7 separate regions of the Homo sapiens genome follow, and all the other regions are linked to region 3. Evidence: promoter capture Hi-C in 16 types of primary human blood cells and fetal thymus (Javierre and others, 2016). All regions are on one chromosome and are shown on one strand. The core of a region is centred on a gene start or on the middle of the fragment in contact, and the rest is flanking DNA. Distances in the headings are between cores, read along the strand shown. Region 1 has its middle 21 kb from the start of FCER1A. Region 2 has its middle 61 kb from the start of OR10J1. Region 3 holds the start of DUSP23 (dual specificity phosphatase 23). Region 4 has its middle 43 kb from the start of OR10J1. Region 5 overlaps LOC124904433 (a long non-coding RNA gene). Region 6 has its middle 7.0 kb from the start of FCER1A. Region 7 has its middle 39 kb from the start of FCER1A.

Region 1 (3,430 bases), core at 248-2,747, 460 kb before region 3:
TCTATTTTAAAAATGAAGAAACTGAAAACAAGCGACAGAACTGGAATAAGTGACTCCTTACCAGGATTCTTTTCACCCTGCCACTATTCATACACAAAATTGAAGGATAGAATTAGTTCTCCTACACCTCTAGAATGATGCTATAGTGACCATACTATATGGATATAGCTACTAAGTCAGTGAATAATTGAGGAGCCAAGATTCTAGAAAGAAAGAATATGCAGAAATGTTAGCTCGAATCTCACTTCTTTGCAGTTTCCTTGAGGAATTGTAATTTGTTGTTTGTAGTCTTTGGTCAAAAAAACTAATAAACTGAGAAGAGTATCTGGAAATTTCCATATGCTTAAGGGTTATATTCTCTGTGAAAGGGTAAAGTGGAAATAAATGAACCCTTCACAGAGACTAAAACTTCAAATTAATTTAATTTCTAGTTAGATTAATATGATCTTGCCCCTAGTCTAATTACCTGTCGAGAAGCAAAATAAAATATTCTCTAGAGGAAGATAATATAATCTAGAGTACCAATTTGTCTTTATATTTTTTTTCATATAGTACTGGAGTAGGAAAACTACAGCCCATCAGCCCACTACATGTTTTTGCATAGCCTGCAAGGGGTATACTAGTTTTTACAATTTTAAATAATTGAAAACAAATTTAAAAAATACTTTGTGACATGTGAAAGCTATGTAAAATTCAAATATAGTAAGCACACACAAAAACCCCAAAATTTTTTGAACCACAACCCCACTCATTCACTTATGTATAATCTATGGCTTCTTTTGTGCTACTATAGCAGAATTTAATAGTTGGAACAGGGACTTATGTATGATCCACAAACCCTAAATTATTAATTACTTGGCCCTTTTCAGGAAAGTGTGAGGATTTCTGATAGAGAGTGTCCAAGATGTAATAAAAATGCACCAGACATACCAGGATAAAAAACCAAAGATCTAAGACTCAACAAATTAAAAAAAAAAACTCAATACAAACAAACCCATAAAATAATCATATTAAAGTTACAAAATACAAATTTAAGATAAATATGACTGTGGCAGACACATTCTAAGGTGACCCATAATGAGTCACACCCATGTATTCCCTTCATTTGAGTGTGGACAGAACTGTGACTTGCCTCTGTTCAATAGAATATGCCAAAGACAATGATATGTCTCACTCCCATGCTTATATAACATTATATAAGAATTTATCATAACAGAATGGAGCAAGAATACTAACTTGCTGACTTTAAAGAATTAAGTGGCCATGTTTTAAGATAACTTGTAACAGGGTGGTGTAGCAAGGAATATATGCAACTTCTAAGAACTAACAGTTTCAGCTGAAAGCCAATTCTGCCAACAACTACATGAGTTTGGAAGTGGATGCCAAACTCCATGAAGGAATACAGCTCTGCTGATGCTGATTGCAGGTGTGTGAGATCCTGAGCAGAGAACCCAGCTAAGCCATGCCTAGAACACCTGTCCAATGGAAATTTTGTGGCATTTTAAGCTACTAAACATGCTAATTTGTTATGCAGCAATAAAAACTACTATAATGATTATTATGCTGAAAAAATAATGTAAGACAAATTTTCAAATCACAGCAGAGAATGAGAAATATTATTTAAAAATAAAGTGAAAACACTAGAAGTATAAAATATAATAAGAGAAACTAAGAACTTAATAGATGTTATAACACCACATTAGAAATAACTGGAGATAAAATCAGTGAATTGGAAGATGTGTCAGTAAAAAATACCTAGATTGAAGCACAGGGAAAAAAAAGTAGTGCAATATGTATAAAAGAGCGTAAGAAGCATATAGAACCCCAGGAAAAGGTCTAGCATATGTGTAATTAGACTACCAGATTAATAGGAGAGATAGAATGTATCAGAAGCAATATACGAAGAAACAGTGGCCATGAATTTTTCAAACTTGAGGAAATCATTAAGACACAAATTCAAGAATCATCCTGAGTTGCCTACCAACAGGATAAATACATATTCAATGATACATAAAATTCATGTAGGCATATCAAATAAAACAACAGAAAAAAGAAAGATAGAAAGAAAAAGCCTTAAAAGGAGTTAGAGTAAAAGGACACGTTATTTTCAAGGACTAACTGTAAGGCTAATAATTGACCCATTAACAGCAGGAAAACAGAAATTAATGGAATGACATTTTTAACATACTGAAAGAAAACAACTACCAAGCTAGAATTCTATAATCAGGGAAAATATCCTTTCAAAAGGGAGACAAAAACAATAAGAGTTTTAGATATGCAAAAAAAAAAAAAAAAAAAAAGAGAGAGAGAGAGAATTTGTCACCAGCAAACCTGAATTAAAAGAAACATGAAGTTCACGAAAATCCACTGTTCTGCAGCCACTGCTGCTGATACCCAGGCAAACAGGGTCTGGAGTGGACCTCTAGCAAACTCCAACAGACCTGCAGCTGAGGGTTCTATCTGTTAGAAGGAAAACTAACAAACAGAAAGGACATCCACACCAAAAACCATCTGTATGGCACCATCATCAAAGATCAAAAGTAGATAAAACCACAAAGATGGGGAAAAAACAGAGCGGAAAAACTGGAAACTCTAAAAAGCAGAGCGCCTCTCCTCCTCCAAAGGAAAGCAGTTCCTCACCAGCAACGGAACAAAGCTGGACGGAGAATGACTTTGACGAGTTGAGAGAAGAAGGCTTCAGACAATCAAACTGCTCCGAGCTACAGGAGGAAATTCAAACCAATGGCAAAGAAGTTAAAAACTTTGAAAAAAAATTTAGACAAATATATAGCTAGAATAACCAATGTAGAGAAGTGCTTAAAGGAGCTGATGGAGCTGAAAGCCAAGGCTTGAGAACTATGTGAAGAATGCAGAAACCTCAGGAGCTGATGCGATCAACTGGAAGAAAGGATATCAGTGATAGAAGATGAAATGAATGAAATGAAGCGAGAAGGGAAGTTTAGAGAAAAAAGAATAAAAAGAAATGAACAGAGCCTCCAAGAAATATGGGACTATGTGAAAAGACCGAATCTACATCTGATTGGTGTACCTGAAAGTGACAGGGAGAATGGAACCAAGTTGGAAAACACTCTGCAGGATATTATCCAGGAGACCTTCCCCAATTTAGCAAGGCAGGCCAACATTCAGATTCAGGAAATACAGAGAACACCACAAAGATACTCCTCGAGAAGAGCAACTCCAAGACACATAAGTGTCAGATTCACCAAAGTTGAAATGAAGGAAAAAATGTTAAGGGCAGCCAGAGAGAAAGGTCGGGTTACCCACAAAGGGAAGCCCATCAGACTAATAGCAGATCTCTCAGCAGAAACTCTACAAGCCAGAAGAGAGTGGGGGCCAATATTCAACATTCTTAAAGAAAAGAATTTTCAACCCAGAATTTCATATCCAGCCAAACTCAGCTTCACAAGTG
Region 2 (3,336 bases), core at 747-3,246, 400 kb before region 3:
TTCTCCCACTCTGTGGGTTGCCTTTTAACTCTGCTTATTATTTCTTTTGCTGTGTAGAAGCTTTTCAGTTTAATTAAGTCCCATCTATTTATCTTTGTTTTTGTTGAATTTGCTTTGGAGATCTTGGTCATGAAGTCTTTGTCTAAGTAAATGTCTAGAAGGGTTTTTGTGATGTTATCTTCTAGAATCTTTATGGTTTCAGGTCTTAAATTTAAGTCTTTTATCCATCTTGAGCTGATTTTTTTGTAAAGTGAGAGATGAGGATCCAGTTTCATTCTTCTACATGGTGCTTGCCAATTATCCCAGCACCAGTTGTTGAGTAGGGTGTCCTTTCCCCACTTTATGTTTTTGTTTGCTTTGTCAAAGATACCCAAAGTATCAAAAGCTGAGAGAGGTGGTTGCCACTAGACTAACCTGTGAGAAATGCTCAAGGTAGTCCTATAGAGTAAAATGAAAGGAAACTAGATAGTCACTCAAAGCAAAATAATTAAAAATCTCAATAAAGGTAAATACATGGACAATTATAAAAACTATTATTTTAACAATGGTTTGTAACTCTGCTTTTTGCTATGTACATGACTTAACTAAACAATACATTAAAAAATATTTATCTGAAAGTTAGTATTATTGTATCTTTGGTTTATAACTTTGCAATTTGTTTTCCACATAATTTAAGAGACTAATGCATTTTAAATGATTATTAATTTATTGTTTTGGATACACAGTGTATAAAGATAAAATTTCATGACATCAACAGACAAAAGATTTGAAAATGGAACTGTTAAAGGAGCAGAGATTTGTATGTTATTGAAATTAAGCTGACATAGATTCAAATTAGAGTGTTATAACTTTAGGGCATTAAATGTAATCCCCATGGTAGCCACGTATCTCAGAGATATTGTGGGTTTGATTTCAGACCACTGCAGTAAAGCAAATATCACAATAAAGTGAGTCACACAAATTTTTGGCTTCTCAATGAATATAAAAGTTATGTTAAACTATACTGTAGTTTATTAAGTGTGTAATAGGATTATGTCTTAAAGACAATGTATAGACTTCAATTTTAAAATACATTACTGTTTTAAAAAATGCTAACAATCATCTGAAACTTCAGCGAATCTTTGTGCTAGTAGAACATTTTGCCTCAATGTTGATGGCTGTTACTGAGCAGAGTGGTGGTTGCTGAAGATTGGGTTTGCTGTACCAATTTATTAAAATGAGACAACAATAAAGATTACCACATCAATTGATTTTTTTTTAGAGACAAGGTCTTGCTCTGTCATCCAAGCTGGAGTACAGTGCTGTGATCATAGATCACTATAGCTTTAAAGTTCTGAGCTCAAGAGATCCTCCCACCTCAGCCTCTTAAAAAACTGGGACTACTGGTGTGAGACACCACACCTGGCCAATTTTATTTATTTATTTGTAGAAATGGGGTCTCATTACATCGCCCTGGCTGGTCTTGAACTTCTGGCTATAAGCTATCTTCCTGCCTCCACCTCCCAAAGTGCTGGGATTACAGGTGTGAATCACCTCGTCCAGGCTTAATTGACTCACAAAAGATTTCTCTGTAGCAGGCAATGCTGTTTGATATCACTTGACCTACAATAGAATGTCTTTCAAATTGGAAGTTAATTCTCTCAAACCCTGCCATTTGTTTAACAACTAAGTTTTAGGGAATATTTTAAATCATTTGTTGTTGTTTTAATAATGTTCACAACCTCTTCACTAGGAGGAGATTCTATCTCAAGAAACTACTTTATTTGCTTATCCATAAGAAGCAACTCCTCATTTGTTAAAGTTTGATTATGAGAAGGCAGCAATTCAGTTATATATTCGAACTCCACTTCTAATTCTAGTTTTCTTCCTATTTCCACCACATCTACACCATGAGAATTGAAATAAGCTTCCTCTAAACTCCTGTTAATGCTAATATTGTGACCTTTTCTCATAAATAATGAATGTTCATAATGACATATAGAATGGCAATTTCTTTTCAGAAGGTTTTCAATTTGCCTCACCCAGATCCATCAGAGGAATCATTATCTATGGCAGCTATTACCTTATGAAATGTATTTTTGAATAATAAAGCTTGAAAGTCAAAATCACTTCTTGATAGATGGGCTGAAGAATGAATATTGTGTTAACAGGCATGAAAACATTATTCTCCTACCATGACTACACCAGAACTCTTGGGTGACTAGGTGCATTGTCAATATTTTGAAAGATATCTTTTTTTTTTTCCTGAGCAGTAGATCTTAAGACAGACTTACCATATTCAGCAAACCATGGTTTAAACAGATGTGTTGTAATTCAGGCTTTGTTCTTCCATTTATAGAGCATAGGCAGAGTAGATTTAGCATAATTCTTAAGGGTGTTAGAATTTTCAAAGTGGTAAATAACCATTGGCTTCAACTTAAAGTCAACAGCTGCATTCATCCCCTAGCAAGAGAGTCAGTTGTCCCTTGAAGCTTTGAAGCCAAGCATTGGCTTCTCCTCTGTAGCTATGGAAGTCCTAGACAGCACTGTCTTCCAATGGAAGGCTATTTTTAAAATATGTTGTTTAATGTAGCCATCTTCATCAATTATCTTAGCTATATTTTCTGGATCATTTGCTCTAATTTTTGCATCAGCACTCCTGAATTACCGTGAACTTTTATGTTATGGAGACAATTTATTTCCTTAAATTTTATAAACGAAATTCTGCTAGCTTAATATCTTCTTCTGCAGTCTCTTCACCTCTCTTAGCCTTCATAGAATTAAACAGACTTAGGGTCTTGCTCTTAATTAGGCTGTAGCTTAAAGGAATGTTGTGACTGGTTTGCTCTCCTATACTGACTTCTAAAAGTTTCTTCATATCGGTAATAAGGCATTTTCACTTTCTTATTTGTGTGTTAACTGATGTAGCAAATTTAATTTCCCTCAAGAATTTTTTTCTTTGCATGCACATCTTGGCTAACCATTTGGCACAAGAGGCCTAGATTTTGGCCTATCTCAGCTTTTGACCAGGCTTCCTCACTAAGCTTAATTATTTCTAGATTTTGATTTAAAGTGAAACACACTCAACTCTTTCACTTAAACACGTAAAGTTGACTGTAGGGTTACTAATTCATCAATTTTCAATATTGTTATGTCTTAGTGAATAGGGAAGCCTGAGGAGAAGCAGAAAGATGGGAAAATGGCCAGTCAGTGGAGCAGTCAGAACACACACAACATTTATCAATTAAGTTTGCTGTCTTATATAGGTTCAAACAAAACAATTATAATAGTAACATCAAAGATCACTTATCAAAGATCACCATAGCAGATATAATAATAATGAAAAAGTTTAAAATA
Region 3 (3,522 bases), core at 819-3,318:
TGGGTCTGCTGGAAGGGAAGGGCAGAGCTTCCTAAAAAGGGAGCCAACTGGCCTCTCCACATGGAGGCCCTAATGGTTTGATGGATGCACTGCTAGCCCTGCAGAAACCCACAAGAGGGAGAGAATCATTGGTAGGGGACTCAGGGAAGAGGAAGATCTCGGTCTCCCAAAAAAATTTTCTCTTTCTGGAGAATATGGGCTTCGAGCTGGATATCAAGGAGGCAAAGAAGGAGCACATAGGAGGGTAGGGAGTGAAGTGGAAACTTCCCTGGTGAGTAGGGGAAGCAAAGAAAGGAGAACAAGGCAAAGGGACTAAGAAAAGATTAACTTACAAGAACAAATGCTAGAGTCTTGTCTCCAGAGGTAGTGCAACCAGAAATCCTGAAGAGCAGTTGAATTGAGAAGAGAAGTGGGAGGTCAGGGGGTTGGGGGAAGAGGTGACTGGTGGCTGAGAGGCCATGGCTGGGAAAGAGAGAAAGGAATAAACTGGGGAGGGCTGGTAACCTTGATAGGAATTTATGTAGGAAATGAGAGTGCAAACAGGAAGGGCTTAATGAGGGCTGTGATTGTCTGGAAGGAGAAAAAGGGGAGATTTGGCACCTCCTGGAACCTGGGGAAAGTAATTGTCTGGGTAAATGGTAAGTGTATTTCCCACAGGGTCAGAGCAGGCTTTGATCTTTAGGAGAAGACAAATTGCTTTCCATCTTGCTGAAGCCAAAGGCTTAAATGGTCAGACGTGTGTCATAGGTGGGTGCAAAGGGAAGGAAATATAATACATCCTCATGGCCAAGTGCCCTGGGCTTGGATCACTGTGTCCTTGGCCAAGTTAACCAACTTCTTTAAGCTTCCAATGATTCATGTACAAAAAAAGATACAAAAATACCTTTCACATGTGGTTCTTCCAGAAAGCGCTTGGCACAGGGCCTGGTACATAAACAAATTCAATAAGGGTTAACTATTTTCATAATTACAGTTAGTCTGCATCGCTAGAAGCACATTATTCAAATGAGGATATGGACTGGTCAGATGACAGTGGAAACGGTGTTCAGATCTAGGGGCCCCCACCTAGTAAGAACAACACTAATCAACTCTAGCCTGCCCAGGGGACAGTGACCCAGAGAACTAGGAAACCTTGAAAAATGAAGAAATATGAAATACTAATAAAAATTAAGAAAACCCACAAGCGTTTAACCCAGATAATATTTGGGGACATGAGGGGGTTATGTGAAGAGAAAACAATGTTCCATTTAACTTTAGGAAATGGCGATATTATTAAAGATTTTGGAGGCATTAGTCATCATCCTTTGGTCAAGTTTATTAACCTCTCCAGTGCCTCTGTTTTTTCATCCATAAAATGGGATTCACTAGATCACCTATCTTATAAGATTACTGTGGCAATTAAATGAGTCAGTATGTGCTAAGTGCTTAGAAGACTATCTAGCACATAATAAATGCTCAATAAGTCCTGAGGAGCAACTGGATTGACAGGAGAAGTTGGTGCTGGTTATTATTATTACTATAATTATTACCCTGGGTAAGTTTTTAATAGTTCCAGCAATGAAAAAATGAGAATAGCCTCCTTGCAGCAGTAATTCCCTCTTACTGGAACAGTTCAAAAAGTCGCTGATAACGACCAGTCAATCATTAGAGAGGAGACTCCTCGTCCTGGGAGAAAGCCGATTTGTCATCTCTTAAACCCCAGGGCATCCAGCGTGAAGGAGGTAGAACTAGGCCGGCCCGCGAGGAGGCAGGGGCAGGCGCCAGTGACGCAATGACTGCAACATGCCGCCAGGGTGCAGCAGAGCCCGACCCCGGGTTGTTCCATCCGCAGCAAACAATTCCTAACTCGCTCCAGGTCTTCCTTCTTAGCTGAGTGGGTTGAACCCCGTGGAAGTAACCCCCCGCCCATTATGATGATCCAGCCAATCACCGCGTGATCTGCTCGGACGGGGCGGGATCGCGGCGCTTCCCTCGGTCGCTCAGAGACTGGGTTCCGCGTTCCAGCCCCGCCCCAGGTTCTGGGCCAATCCCCGCGGCTGGGCAGAGCGACCCGAGGGCGGCGCCCTGCAGACCACGTGGCCCGGGAGGCGCCGAGGCCAGGTAGGTGGTGAGTTACTTGGCTCGGAGCGGGCGAGGGGACGCGTGGGCGGAGCGGGGCTGGCCAGCCTCGGCCCCCATGACCCGCTGTCCTGTGCCCTTTCCCAGCGATGGGCGTGCAGCCCCCCAACTTCTCCTGGGTGCTTCCGGGCCGGCTGGCGGGACTGGCGCTGCCGCGGCTCCCCGCCCACTACCAGTTCCTGTTGGACCTGGGCGTGCGGCACCTGGTGTCCCTGACGGAGCGCGGGCCCCCTCACAGCGACAGCTGCCCCGGCCTCACCCTGCACCGCCTGCGCATCCCCGACTTCTGCCCGCCGGCCCCCGACCAGATCGACCGCTTCGTGCAGATCGTGGACGAGGCCAACGCACGGGGAGAGGTCAGCGGGCGGGGTCAGCGCAGGGAGGGAGGGGCCTGGAAGGTCAGCGGGGGACACGGGCGGAGCTGGGGAGACCGGGCCTGGGATAACTTAACTGGGCTCGGGGAGGCAGACAGTAGGGCCGGGAGACTGGGAAGCCAGTGCGGGGGAGGGAAGCGCTAAACGGAAGGAACTAAAGAGAGGGCGAAGCAGTGCGAACTGGGCTTGAGGAGAGGCAGTGAAAACCAGCTAATACTGTGAGTTGTGAAGGAGAAGGGTGTGGACAGACACCTGGGAGAGGTGGGGGTTGAAGTCAGGTGGAGGCTGTTTACCATTTTCTAGAGTAAAGCTGTCCAAATATAATGGAACCTAAGTGGCTCCATGTAATGTTAATTTTTCTAGCAACGGCATTCTTAAAAAGCAGGGAAGCAGATAAAATTAACTTTGGTGATCTTAATGAGATATTTTCATTCTTTTTTCTACTACCTCTTCATACCCTGTTGCGTTTTTCACACTACATCTCAGTTTGGACTAGCCACATTTCGAGTACAGTAGCCACAGTAGCCGTGGCTACTGTCTTCTGTATTGAACACCACAGGTGGAGGGCTGTGTAGAGGTGGACAGCTCTTGAACCAGCCAGTGCAGAGGCCTCCTAGCCACCTAGTGCAGGGACAGCCCTCCCTGACTTTGCTGCAGAGCCCTGGACCTGGCACAGAAGAAGGAGCTGTGGGGAGAACCAAGTGAGGGGCAGGAAACAGTTGTGGGTGGGGGAGTTGAGTGGCACCCATCGAGCCCCCTCTTCGTAGGCTGTGGGAGTGCACTGTGCTCTGGGCTTTGGCCGCACTGGCACCATGCTGGCCTGTTACCTGGTGAAGGAGCGGGGCTTGGCTGCAGGAGATGCCATTGCTGAAATCCGACGACTACGACCCGGCTCCATCGAGACCTATGAGCAGGAGAAAGCAGTCTTCCAGTTCTACCAGCGAACGAAATAAGGGGCCTTAGTACCCTTCTACCAGGCCCTCACTCCCCTTCCCCATGTTGTCGATGGGGCCAGAGATGAAGGGAAGTG
Region 4 (3,508 bases), core at 260-2,759, 380 kb before region 3:
GCTTCTTTTAACAGGCCAAGAAATGCTCAAAGACAATAGAGGTCTGTGACCTTCTTATTAGTTTTGTTTGCTCACAACTCCCAAGAAGTGATGCTTCCTCATCCCCACTTCAAGTTTTTTGCATTTTGTTTTTCTTTTCTTTTTTTTTATTCTAAAACTGAGTGTGGTCAGTGTAAAGAGTGGGAGCATTAGTAAATACAGCTCATAGCAAGCAATACACTTAAACACTAGTCTAAGTGTGCTCAAAGAGTAGTGGGAAGATCTCTTCCAGGGGGTCTATGAGATCAAACTGTTTTCATGATAATACTGATATTATTTACCTTTTTCATTCATTCTCTCATGAGACAGGAGTTTTCCAGAGGCTACATAATATGTGATATGGCAACAGATTGGATATAGAAGCGCACATAATAATCCAGCTGTCTTCTATTAAACCAGACATTAAAGAGAATTGCAAAAATGTAAAGTAGTGCCACTCTTCTAAATATTTTGTTGTTTTGGTTATTTTTCATAAAAATGTTATTTATGTTAACACATAATAGGTTCATTGTTATTTTCAAATAAATTAACAGTTTTAAAATTATCCATTTTAATTTCTACTACAGTAAAATAACATGGACAAAAGTTCATAGGGTCCCCAATAATTTTTAAGAGTTGAAAGAGTTCCCATGATCAAAATGTTGGTAGCCTTGAAGGTCTCCAACCTACTAAGAGCCAGCCGTGGCAGAGTAGCACAAACAGGTAATAAAGCCCTCAATAGACATCGCTTGGAAAACTGAGGGAATAAAATGATTAATATACTAGATTGTGGAGAATAATAGTTTAAATTAGATAATGTGTATAAAATTTCTAGCAAAGCTCTTAATGCATAGACAATAATTAATGCATAAGTGCTTTCTTCTCTGACTTTGGAATAAGAACCACCAGGCTCAGGGAGAGAGGTGGAAAAAGATGGCAGAATAGGAAGCTGCACCAATCATCCCCATAGCAAGGACAGCAAGTTAACAACTACCTTCACAGGAAAACAACACCAAAAATAAGGTGAGCACTCATAACACCTGGTTTCAACTTCATATTGCTGAAAAAAGCACTGAAGAGATAGAAAAACAGCCCTGAATCACGTATGCCACCCCTCCCCAACCCTCGCAAGCATCTCTACGTGCTGGAGGAAGAACACAATTGTGAGGCATTGGACTCAGTGCTGTTCTGTTAGAGCAGAAGGGAAAACCAACAAACTCAGCTGACACCCATACACAGAGGGAGCATTTAAACTAGCCCTAGCCAGTAGGGAATTGCCAGTCCCAGTAGTCCGAACTATGAGTGCCTGCAAACCTCACCACCAAGGGCCAAAGTGCTCTCAGTCACTAAGTAAACTTGAAAGGCAGTCTAGATCATAAGGACTGCAACATTTAGGTGAGTCCCAGGGCTGAACTAGGCCCAGAGATAGTGGACTTGTTGTGAGGGTTGGGCATGGAATAGACTGAGAGACTAGCTAAGGAAGCCAAAGGAGTGCTGGCATCATCCCTCCCCTAACCCAAGGCTGCACAGTTCATGGCTCCAAAAGACACTCCTTTCTTCCACTTAAGGAGAAGGGAGGAAAGAGTGAGGAGGACTTTGTCTCGCTTCTTGGACACCAGCTCAGCCACGGCAGGTTAGGGCACCAGTCAGTCAGGAGGCCCCTGTTTCAGACCCTAGCCCCCAGCCAACATTTCTAGACACACCCTGGTCCAGAAGGGAACCTGTTGCCTTAACGAAAAGGACCCTGTCCTGCCAGCATCCATTGACTGCTAAATAAAGAGCCCTTGGGCCCTGAATAACCAGCAGTGATACCCACGTACTACACTGAGGGCCTTAGAGAGCCTCTGAGACTTGCTGGCTTGAGGTAAAACTCAGCATGTTACTAGCTGTGGTGGCTATGGGGCAAAACTCATTCTGCTTGAGAAAAGCAGAGGGAAAAGTAAAGGGGACTTTTTCTTGCACCTTAGGTAAGAACACTGCCACAAAGGGTAAAGCACCAAGTGGAATCTTGGGGGTCCTTGATTCCAGAACTGGACTTTTGGATGGCATTTCTGGACCTGCCCTGGGCCAGAGGGGAGCCCACTACCCTGAAGGGTGAGTCCCAGGCTAGACAACATTCACCACAAGCTAACTTAAGAGATCTTAGGCCTTAAAGGAATATTGATGGTAGTCTGGCAGTACTCCTCATGGCCATGGGCGGTGGGGGCTATGGGGGTGAGATTCTTCTGCCTTTGGAAAAAGAAAGGAAGAGTGGGAAGAACTATGTCTTGTGGTTTCCGTGCCAGCTCAGCTGCAATATAATAGAATACCAGATAGTCTCCTAAGGTTTTTGACTCTAGTCCCTGACTCCTGGATGGCACTTCTGGACCCACCTGGGGCTTGAGGGACCTTGCCACCCTAAAGCAAAGGACACAGGCCTGGCTGTCTTTGCTGCCTGGTGATTATAGAGCCCCAGGGCCTTGAGTGAACATAGGCAGTAGCCAGGGACTGGCTACAGCAGGCCTTGGGCAAGCCCCAGCACTATCCTGGCTTCAAGTCTGTGCAGTCATAGTGATGGTGGCCACAGGAGTGCTTGTGTCACTACACCCCCAGCTGTAGGTGGCTCAGAAAAGAGAAAGAGACTCTGTATGTTTGGGAGAAAGTAAGGGAAGAGAATAAGAATCTCTGCCTGGTAATACAGAGAATTCTGGTAATCTTACCCAAGACCATCAAGGCAATACCATAGCAACAGTCTGCAAGAACGGCAGCATTATTGGGCTTAGGGTGACCCCTAAAGCAGAAACAGCTTAAATCACAACACCCAAGTCCTTTCAAATATCTGGAAAGCCTTCTCAAGGATGGCTGCAAATAAGCCAAGACAGTGAAGATTACAATACATACATTACTCTTTGATTCCCAGACACTGAAGAATATCTACTAGCATCAACCATCAACATTGTCCAGGAAAACATGACCTTACCAAATTAACTAAATAAGGCACTAGGGACCAATCCTGAAAAAACAGAGATATGTGACCTTTCAGAAAGGGAATTCAAAATAGATGTGTTGAGGAAACTCAAGGAAATTCAAGATAATACAGGGAAGGAATTCAGAATTCAATCAGATATATTTAACAAAGAGATTGAAATAATTTTAAGAAATCAAGCAGAAATTCCAGTGCTGAAAAATGCAATTGGTATACTGAGGAATGCATAAGAGTCCTTCAATAGCAGAATGGATCAAGAAGAAGAGAGAATTAGTGAGCTTGAAGAAAAGCTATTTGAAAATATACTGTCAGAGGAGACAAAAGAAAAAAGAATAAAAAACAATAAAGTATGCCTACAGAATCTAGAAAATAGTCTCAAAAAGGCTATTTTAGAGAATTATTATTGAGAAATGGTAAGAATTACTGGCCTTAAAGAGGAGGTAAAGAAAGAGGTAGGGGTAGAATGTTTATTCAAAAGGATTATAACAGAGAACTTCCCAAACCTAGAGAAAGATATCAATAGCA
Region 5 (3,391 bases), core at 334-2,833, 420 kb before region 3:
CCATTTACATTCAATGTAATTATGATAGGTAAAGCCTTGCTACTGCCATTTTGTTACTTCTTTACCAGTTGTGGTGTAACTCCTCTCTTCTTTTCTAACTGTCTTTCTTTATATTGAAGTTATTTTCTCTGGTAGAGTATTTTAATTTATAGCTTTTTTAGTGTATCTATTATATGCTTTTGCTTTGTGATTAACATGAAGCTTACACAAACATCCTATAGTTATAACACACAATTAAAAACTTATTTAAACTTAGCTTTAATCACAAGAAAATAACAGTAACAAAGCAAAAACAAAATAAAAAAAAATGTGTACAGACTACCTTCTCCCCCACATATTTTGAATTTCTGATGTCACAATTTAAAATTTTTATATTGCCTATACCTTAAATTGCTGTAGCTATTGTTCTTAATTTGTCTTATTTTCTCTTTCAGTCTTCTTAGTAAAGATAGAAGTGGGTCAAACACCACAATCACAATATTAATATTAACAATCGTGTTAGCATTCTTTCCTTTGGGTTTGAAGAACTTTCTTCAGCAGAGTGCTCATTTTTCTCAAATGAACATGGAAAATTCTTTAGAATAGATCATATGTTAAATCACAAAACAAACCTTAACAAATTTGAAAAAAATGGAAACATATCAAGTATTTTTTAATACCACAATGGAATGAAATTAGAAATCAATAACAGCAATAAAATGGAAAAATTTTATATTACATGGAAATTAAACAACACACTATAACTATTGGGTCAAAGAGAAAATCAAAAAGGAATCTAAAAAATATGTTGAAACAAATGAAAACAAAATTAAAACATGCCAACACTATAGGATGCAACAAAAGCAGTCCTAAAAGTTTATGATCATAAATGCCTACATTTAAAGAAAGACAGATCTCAGATGCAGAAACCTAACTATACACCTCAAGGGACAAGAAAAAAGAAGAACAAACTACACCCAAAGTTAACAGAAAAATAAAATAATAAAGATTAGAGCAGAAATAGAGAATCGAAAAACAACAGAAAAATTAACAAACCTAAAAGTTCTTTCTATAAAAAAGATAAATTAAATGGACAACCCTTAGCTAGAATAAAAGAGAAAATAAGAGACAGAAGACTCATATAAATTTAGAAGTGAAGAAAGAGACATTACAACAGATGCCTAAGAAATAAAAAAGATCATAGAGATTTCTATGAACAATTAAAAGGCAACAAATTATATTTGTATAGCCTGGAAGAAATGGATAAATTTCTAGAATTATGCAGCCTACCAAAACTAATCAAGAAGAAATAGAAAACTTGAACAGATGAAAATAATCAGTAGATTGACTCAGTATTAGAATCCTTCCAACAAAGAAAAGCCCAGGACCAGATGGCTTTATGAATGAATCCTAGCAAACAGTCAAAGAAAATTTAATATAAGTCCTTCTTAAACGCTTCTAAAAAATAGAAGAGAAAACAGTTCTATACTCATTTGATAAGGCCAAAGCCAAAGACACCACAAGAAAAGAAAACTGCAAGTCAAAATCTCCCATGAATATAGATGAAAAATCCTGAATAAAATACCAGCTATCTAAATCCAATAGTACACCACAAAGATTATACGCCATGGCCAAATGGGATTTATCTCTGGAATGCAGGGTGAAATCAACATAAGCAAATTAATCATTATGATACATCACATTAACGGAATGAAAATAAATCACATGATAATCTCAATAGATGTAGAAAAAAGCATTTTACAAAGTTTGACATTCATTCATGATAACAACTCTCAGTAAAATATGTAAAGAAAGAAGTAACATAAACATGATAAAGGCTATTTATGAAAAACCCACAGATAATATCATAATCAATAGGGAAAAACAACTTTTTCTCTAAAATCCAATATAAGGCAAGAATGCTCACCCTTGCCACTCTATTCAACATAGTACTGGAAGTCCTAGAAAGACAAATAGAAAAGAGAGAGAAAGAAAAGGCATTGAAATTAGAAAGGGAAAAGTAAAATTATCTCCGTTTGCAGATGACATGATCCTCTATGTAGAAAACCCTAAAAACTCCATGAAAGAAAAAAAAACTGTTAGAATAAATAAATTCACTAAAGGTACAGGATACACATTCAGTGTACAAAGATCAATAGCATTACTTTGCATCAAAAATAAACTATACACGAAGAAAATTTTTAAAAATCTCATTTACAATAACATAAAAAAGAATAAATTACTTAAGAACAAATTTAACCAGGGAGGTGAAAGATTTGTATACTGAAAACCAAAAAATATTGATGAAAGAAATTAAAGAAGAAACCAATAAATGGAAAGATATCCCGTGTTCATGGATTGGAAGAATTTATATTATTAAAATGTCTATAATACCTAAAGTGATTTATAGATTGAATGTAATCTATATTTATTAGAATTTCAATTGTATTTTTTACAGAAATAAAAGGAAAAATTCTAAAAATTTGTATGGAACCACAAAAGATCCCAAATAGCCAAAGTAATCTTGAGAAACAAGAGAAAAGCTGAAGGCATCACACATCCTGATTTAAATATATTGCAAAGCTGTAGTAATCATACAGTATAATACTGGCATAAAAACAGCAACATAGACCAATGGAACAGAATGAAGAGCCCAGAAATAAAACCACATGTACAAAATTAACCAATCTTCAATAAAGGCACCAAGGACATAACATGGGGAAAAGATAATCTCTTGTTGTGTTGGTAAAATGTGATATCCACATGCAGAAGAAAAGAAAACTACAGGTTATTATTTTACAGCATACACAAAAATTAATTCAGAACAGATTGAAGACTTAAACCTAAGACCTGAAATCATAAAAATTCCTAAAAGAAAACATAGGAAAAAGATGCTTAACAGTCTTGGCAATGATTTTTTTTTCATATAACACAAAAAGCACAGGTAACAAAAGCAAAAATAAATAAGTGGGACTACAACAAACTAAAAAGCTTCTGTTTAGGAAAAAAAAAAAGAATGTTGTGTCTGTACTGAACATGCACAGACTTTTTTTCTTGTCATTATTCTCTAAGCAATACAGTACAACACTCATTTACATAACACTTACATTTGATTAGATGTTATAAGTAATCTAGAGATGATTTAAAGTAAATGGGAGGATGTGCATAGGTTGCATGCAAAGATTATGCCATTTGATATAACGGACTTGAGCATCCTCAGATTTTACTAGCCGTAGTGCATCTTGGAACAAATCTACGTGGATACTGAAGGACCACTGTATACCTTACTTTGTTTCTTACAACCAAATAAATTTCAGATGAATCAATATTGAAGCATACGAAGTATATGGGACAGCATGGTGCTTTTTAAAAATAATCTTGGAGTTAGGAAGTCCCTTTTAAGCACTAATCA
Region 6 (3,180 bases), core at 348-2,847, 490 kb before region 3:
TATGTGCCACATTTTCTTAATCCAGTCTATCACTGTTGGACATTTGCAACCTACTCATCTGACAAAGGGCTAATATCCAGAATCTACAATGAACTCAAACAAATTTACAAGAAAAAAAACAAACAACCCCATCAAAAAGTGGGCGAAGGACATGAACAGACACTTCTCAAAAGAAGACATTTATGCAGCCAAAAAACACATGAAAAAATGCTCACCATCACTGGCCATCAGAGAAATGCAAATCAAAACCACAATGAGATACCATCTCACACCAGTTAGAATGGCAACCATTAAAAAGTCAGGAAACAACAGGTGCTGGAGAGGATGTGGAGAAATAGGAACACTTTTACACTGTTGGTAGGATGGTAAACTAGTTCAACCCTTGTGGAAGTCAGTGTGGCCATTCCTCAGGGATCTAGAACTAGAAATACCATTTGACCCAGCCATCCCATTACTGGGTATATACGCAAAGGACTATAAATCATGCTGCTATAAAGACACATGCACACGTATGTTTATTGCGGCACTATTCACAATAGCAAAGACTTGGAACCTTCTCTTAATTTCTACAATTCTCCAAAGTCTTTCTTTTTATGGGGACTTTCAACTTCCCACTGCTTGAAAATTCTTGTTCCAGCCTTTGTCTTGTTTCATCCTATCTCGTACTTTAAGTCTCTACTTAAAAGTCATTTTTCATCAAATGGCCTTTCTTAACCCTATTTAAAACAGATTGTCCTTGTACGTCTATGGAGCAACATTATTTACTTTTTACAAACGTTAGTCACAAGCTGTCACTGTTCTGTTTACTTATTTATTTTCTGTTTTCTCCAATAGAAAGTCTTCTCCCCAAGGGAAAAGATCTTGTCTGCTTATTATCTCTCTTGTATCACCAGCAAATGACAGAGTGCTTGGAATATAAATACTTGTTGAACAAAGAAATGAAAATATATGATGAAGAATGTTCCTATGCTGAAACTAAATTTTTGTGTTAGTTTTAGTGACAGAAAGATCAAGTAACAGGTCTGTATCCATATTTAAGCCATTTCTTTATTTGTCCATAATAATTCAAGCTCAGAGATTGCCTGTTTGGAAAAGTATATTATAAAAAACACTATTAATAAACTTCAAGACATAGTTTGCTCATTCTGAAAAATTAGAAAATATAATTAGCCAAAATTCTACCAGCAAACTATGATCAAATGCTAACTTTAATGAGATAGCCCTTGATAATTCTGAAGTTATCTTTTTTCTCTTAAAGATAAATTGGCATCATGAGATTATTGAAATATATGGTTGATTAGTATAAATTCAATTTAGGAATTGAGAATACAAAAAATTATTTATTTTACATTCTCTGCTATAGACTTCTAATTAACTCTTGCCCCTTGGGTCATGCAGAGAAGATTTTCTTCATATATCTTTCTGCAACGTGACTGTGCTATTACCTATGATAAAGAGGGTTGTTCTGTGTTTGGCAGCCTATTCTAGGGTGGGCCTTGTGTCAGTTCCTTTTTTTGTCCACCTGTCTCTGAACAACATAAAACCCTCATTCATAGGTGCAGCATGACTTAATTTGTCGGTCACTAGATGCAGTTGTAAATTGCAAACAAAAAAATGGAAATGCAGATGTTGAAATAAAGATGCAATTTTTGGTTATGAAATGGTCATCTGAATGATCCATATTTATATTCATTTATTTATTATCAATGAAAAACGTACAAATTTTCTAATTAAAAAACTTACAAATTCCTAATTATAATAAACACTATTCTACGGGAATGGCCACCAAAATGTCCCAAATTTTATGTCACTGAATCTATTTCTAATATTCGGTCTAATAGTCTAATCACAGACACTCAATATTCATTTGTTTTCTTGAACCTCTATGATAATCTGCAAGTGTTTCCCGTTTTGGAAGAGACAAAGGAAAAAGCTGTGATGAATATCACTGGAAACTGCGGATCAGGGCCCCTATTCCATGTTTCTCTGGCCCTTTTTTCTTCTTCAGAATTTAGCAGTGGTTTTCAATCCTATCAGATCACATTTGATAGCATGCATTTATTCCTGTGTTTGTAAGGCATAAACCTGTAACCACACTACAAATAGTGAGAATATTGCTGTGAAACTGCATACTCTATGCACTCCCAACAATCAATAATAGAAAATAAGTGGTGCTCAATGATGCTAGAGAAAAGAATAAATTATATTTCTAGTTTGTCTATAAAAATGATATTACAATATCTCTGTCTGAGGAAGAGGAGATCAAATAACATGTAATAACAATATTTTGAAAAGGAAGAGGATAGTGGAATATCTGTTTACTTTCTGATGAATTTTATAATGTTTATGTCATTTGTCAGCTGGTATATTTTTAACCTTTTGTGATTAACTTTCTTGTCCTAAATAGTAATTTTAATATCTAATATTGTATTCAAAAATTTCTACTGGATTTTTTAAGGAAGCCCCCTTAAACTGTTTAAGTTTCAGGGCCTCAAACTGGATCTACCTCTGCTACTTACACACACATATATTTTTTAATCAGTAAAATTCCCAGTTTTAATATAAAGAAGAAATAAAGGGAAATAACATTATAATAGGAAAATATGTCCTTCATGAATATGAGTGCTACAAAAACAGACTGATATGAGAATAAGGTATTGGTGACACAAATATCATGAACAGTGTAGCTACAGGTGATCTGATTTTCTGAAACAGTGAAAAATTCAAGGATGTTTTTCCAGTAAAAGCCAAGGATAATCTTTCCTCAATATACATGGTAGTTTCTTTTCTGTAAAATACAGTATGTATGAGAAATGCAAAAGATGCTTTTGTGTTTTTCACAGTCGTGTTTAAGGCTCAGATAATTATAAAATATCTGGCTGCACATTGAAAAGATGTGCAGAATCAGGCCAATTATTTAGTATGCAAGGCTGCCTTCAGTATTGCAGGGCATTTGTTTGCCTGCTAATGCTACAAATGTCTCCTGTATACTCATCATTGAAACAAGCAACCCTCAATACACATACATACATTCTCATGCATAAACTTACATTTCCTAAAGGCCTTTTGTAGGTGGTAACACAGAGTATGATGAGAAAGTTTCAGAATGCGTCCTGCCCCTCCCACTGTTCCCATCCTCACTCATACCCTCTTTCACGCACTAGAAACACACGGGTCACA
Region 7 (3,435 bases), core at 250-2,749, 440 kb before region 3:
AATTAAATTTCAACCTGAGTTTTGGCAGAAACATTCAAACCATAGCAACAATGTAGCATAGAGGGTCAGGAAGGTCAACTAAAATTAGCAAATGTTGGTCTGAATTTATTTCATGACATGTCCAGTGATTCCCAAATGTATCCTATTTATTTCCCTATTTCTAAATGTATTATTTGAAATAGACACATTTGGCAACGTATTACACATCAGCTACTTCAACCCATTTCCTAAGTAATTTATGATACCATCAGTTTTGAGTAGGGCCCAAAACAAGGGAAGGCTCTGAAGTTAGTCAAGAATACAGTGTAAGCAGCTCTACCACTAAAGCCTTACAATTCAGTAGATTCCACGTGTTCAATGAGAGTTTATTTTTTATAGTGACTGATATGTGTGTTTATAATATATATTTGTGGCAATATCACAAGGTCTGTTCCTAAAGGTATATGGCCACCTCTTCATTCAAGGGTTCTAGTCTGAAATTGGGTGAGAGGCTATAATGATTCTCCATGTGGAGAATTAAGTTGGTATTCTGTGAAGCTACAATAGGAGGATTACAATGCAGGCCCTTCAGACTTCTTTAAAAAGCTGCACTTTCTCTAGACAAACATCTTTTAAGAAACGACTCAAATCACTGCTACGGCTGGTAAAGGCAGGTCTCTTGACCATGTATCCTAGGATGCCTATTGTGAGCTGGTTCTATGTGTCCCAACAAGCCAAAATCATCTTCATGTCTACTACCCTAGTTCCAGCTCTCATCATATTTCCATTGGAGAACTGCAGTATCTTCCTAATTAAATTTTCTGCTTCCAAATTTACTTCTCCAATTCATTTTTCTCATTTCAACTAGACTTTTTGAAATGCACATCTGATTGTGCTATTCACGGTTTTAAAAGCTTTGCTGGCTCCACATTGGCCTTACAAAGTGGCACAAGACTCTGTATGATCTCATCCCCTATTACCTTCTAACATCATCTCTTCCTCAGACTGTGTGTACAATTTTGCCTTCTTTCACTTCTCAGAATGAGTTATTATCATTAATCTCTCAAGTCCTTCACTCATGTTTTCTCTCTATCTTAAAATTTCTTTCTTGGTTGACCTATATCTATCTTAAATATTCCTGTTTGAACATCATTCCTCAGAAAAGTATTTAAAGTCTTCCCAGACTAGGACAACCTGCCCTCTCTGTTATATGCTCTCATAATGGCTCAAACCTTTCCTTATAGCATTTATTTTTGTTCATAATAATGTATTTACTTGTGAGATGATTTATTTGAAATATGCCTAGGTGGGAAGGCTATTCACTGGACAAGGACAAGAACACCTAATCAGGGAGAGAATGAGGGGTAAAATCTAGCTCACAGTGCACTTGACAAGCCATACATCCTGTTATAGATCTCCCTCTGTCTATAAGCAGGAGTGCCCTTTTACTAATTGTATAAATACAGTCTCTGCTCACAAAGGAGTGTGTACATTGGCTGCATCTACATGAAGAGTCTCCTTTTGCTAATTTGCACAAAGATAATAATGGATTAGCTATAGTTTTGTATGCCTCCCTCCTTGATAAGCTCTATGTGAGCAAACACCATGACTGTTTTTGTCATGCTTGTGTCCTCAATACTCAGCATAATTCATCGCACTTAAGCTCTCCATTAATATTTATTGGTTTAATAAATAAAGAAATGATCCTCAAACGTATAATAAATAGGCCATTTTATTTTGCAGGTTTCTTCTAGGTTCATTGGTTTGTTAACAAAATAGACTTTACATTCTAAGATGCAAGCTGCTTTGGTGAGTCAATAACCAAAGGCAATGAGTTTTGTTTTACTAATTGCCCAAATTCCTAATCAGATCCCTGGGATAGAGTCATACACTTTGCTTCCCTCCGTGCCCTGGAATGATTCTCAAGGGGAAGTCCCCAGAGTTCTAGAGCAGATGAAGTTGCTTCTCTTTCAGGAGTAAACAGAGTTCCTGGATTTGGGGTTGCAAGAGATTTCAACTCTGCAGGAAGACTTCCCAAGCCAGAGGAGTCAATGCTCTGGACCTTGAATTAGTCACCATACTCGAATCTTCCTTCAGACACTCAGGAAGTGCTGATCATCCAGGCTTGAAGCTTTCAATTTCTCCTACTAGACCTTTTGGAGAGGTTCTAATCTCAGGGTTTTTTTGTTGTTGTTGTTTATTTTATTTATTTATTTTCTTTTCATGTTCAAATACACCAGCTAAAAGGAGAATTTCTCTCATTTCCTCTGCCAAGTTTGCAAAAAGTAAGTGGTTATTGATAGGAAAAAAAGGAGAGGAAACTTGATTTTAAATTTTCTGATATACTTCCTTTTTCTCTTCAGTTTTCTGATTATTTTTGTGATATTAGAATTTCATAATTTCCCTGTATCTTGCATGATGGCTGATTGAGAGCTGATGACTTATAAAGTGAAATATAGTATTCTTACAAGCTTTATGTTTAAATAATAAAATCAGCTGCAGAAAATCTTGGAGGGAAGAGTGAATAAGACAACTTTCATAACTCCCAGAATTGTCATCTGTTCCTGATGTCCCTGGCATCTTTTGAGTCAATAAGGCTGAGATGCAGTTTTCATACAGCTATTGTCTCCTTCTTCTCTTACCTGAACACCTTGCCTGAAAATTCATTCAGTAGGGCATTGATCTGTTGGAAATGCATGGGATTTGGAGTTAGAAATATCTTTGTTTCACACCTGCAACTGCCAATTACTAGATCTGTGAGTCGGACTTAAGTAGCTTATCCCACTGAAGTAGCTTATCCCACTGAGCCTCAAATTCTCCACCTACCAAATGGGAGTATTTTATTTCCTTGCAGAGTAATCACTAGCCTTTAGGCTGGTGTATGTTAACCAAATGTTTGTTTCTGCATTTTATTTTCTAACTCCTCAGCCATTTAGAGTATAAGGGCTACCTTCATTTTTCCATCAGCTTTGAGAGTCTATATGCTCCGTTGACACCCCTTATCTATCATGCACAGTCCTGGTCAGATTACTGTTCCTGCCCCTTTTCAGCAACAATGCATGGGGGCATCAGGATCACTACTTTCAGAAAAATGTACTCAGCATAATGTGTGTGTGTGTGGGGGGGGGGCGGGCGGAGGGGTGTGAGAGAGAGAGAGAAAGAGAGAGAGAGAGAAAAAGAGAGAGAGATAGGTGGATGTGAATTAGACTGAGGCTAAGGATTCTAGACAGATAGATACTAGACTTGCCATAGCAGAGAACAATTAAAAGGAACACCATTTTCCTCTGAGCCTCACCCTCCTATCAGATGATAGTAGCTACGTCAGGAACTATGAGGAAATTAGGTAACAATTACACAGTCCATGTTCCTGCCTCTTCACAGAGACATCAAAAGCAACTCAGAATAAGATACAATGATTCCCTTTTTAAAAAATGTCTTCCTAAAGAAGGTTCATTC

Evidence for each region. The method cuts DNA at HindIII sites, captures the fragments that hold promoters and counts their contacts. A CHiCAGO score of 5 or more calls a contact.
Region 1: a fragment that was not itself captured here is called in contact with the fragment with the promoter of DUSP23 in region 3 in 3 of 17 cell types (M2 macrophages, endothelial precursors and megakaryocytes); the score reaches 10.2 in M2 macrophages.
Region 2: a fragment that was not itself captured here is called in contact with the fragment with the promoter of DUSP23 in region 3 in 5 of 17 cell types (M2 macrophages, M0 macrophages, megakaryocytes and 2 more); the score reaches 7.6 in M2 macrophages.
Region 4: a fragment that was not itself captured here is called in contact with the fragment with the promoter of DUSP23 in region 3 in 3 of 17 cell types (M2 macrophages, endothelial precursors and megakaryocytes); the score reaches 8.6 in M2 macrophages.
Region 5: a fragment that was not itself captured here is called in contact with the fragment with the promoter of DUSP23 in region 3 in 1 of 17 cell types (M2 macrophages); the score reaches 7.4 in M2 macrophages.
Region 6: a fragment that was not itself captured here is called in contact with the fragment with the promoter of DUSP23 in region 3 in 4 of 17 cell types (M2 macrophages, megakaryocytes, M1 macrophages and 1 more); the score reaches 11.5 in M2 macrophages.
Region 7: a contact is called between a fragment that was not itself captured here and the fragment with the promoter of DUSP23 in region 3, in 6 of 17 cell types (M2 macrophages, M0 macrophages, endothelial precursors and 3 more). The highest score is 10.8, in M2 macrophages.

What each region holds. Positions count from the first base shown.
Region 1 is chr1:159,321,289-159,324,718 of GRCh38, forward strand. No RefSeq gene overlaps it. Among named protein-coding and RNA genes, the nearest start is that of FCER1A, 21 kb to the left of the region's middle. The HindIII fragment of the contact is 7,617 bases long and covers 1-3,430 here.
Region 2 is chr1:159,376,637-159,379,972 of GRCh38, forward strand. No RefSeq gene overlaps it. Among named protein-coding and RNA genes, the nearest start is that of OR10J1, 61 kb to the right of the region's middle. The HindIII fragment of the contact is 185 bases long and covers 1,905-2,089 here.
Region 3 is chr1:159,778,894-159,782,415 of GRCh38, forward strand. It overlaps DUSP23 (dual specificity phosphatase 23), which reads left to right and starts at 2,069. Exons shown (of 2, transcript NM_001319658.2): 1 at 2,069-2,474; 2 at 3,260-3,522. The coding sequence starts at 2,208. The coding sequence ends at 3,445. It overlaps LOC101928264 (a long non-coding RNA gene), which reads right to left and starts at 488. Exons shown (of 3, transcript XR_922193.3): 1 at 333-488. RefSeq lists a silencer at 2,004-2,393 and an enhancer at 2,385-2,961. The HindIII fragment of the contact is 4,062 bases long and covers 843-3,522 here.
Region 4 is chr1:159,395,419-159,398,926 of GRCh38, forward strand. It overlaps a transcript of OR10J1 not described here. Among named protein-coding and RNA genes, the nearest start is that of OR10J1, 43 kb to the right of the region's middle. The HindIII fragment of the contact is 4,279 bases long and covers 1-3,508 here.
Region 5 is chr1:159,356,475-159,359,865 of GRCh38, forward strand. All of the region lies in intron 1 of LOC124904433 (a long non-coding RNA gene), which reads right to left. Among named protein-coding and RNA genes, the nearest start is that of FCER1A, 56 kb to the left of the region's middle. The HindIII fragment of the contact is 2,769 bases long and covers 200-2,968 here.
Region 6 is chr1:159,293,761-159,296,940 of GRCh38, forward strand. It overlaps a transcript of FCER1A not described here. Among named protein-coding and RNA genes, the nearest start is that of FCER1A, 7.0 kb to the right of the region's middle. The HindIII fragment of the contact is 9,514 bases long and covers 1-3,180 here.
Region 7 is chr1:159,339,953-159,343,387 of GRCh38, forward strand. No RefSeq gene overlaps it. Among named protein-coding and RNA genes, the nearest start is that of FCER1A, 39 kb to the left of the region's middle. The HindIII fragment of the contact is 1,217 bases long and covers 892-2,108 here.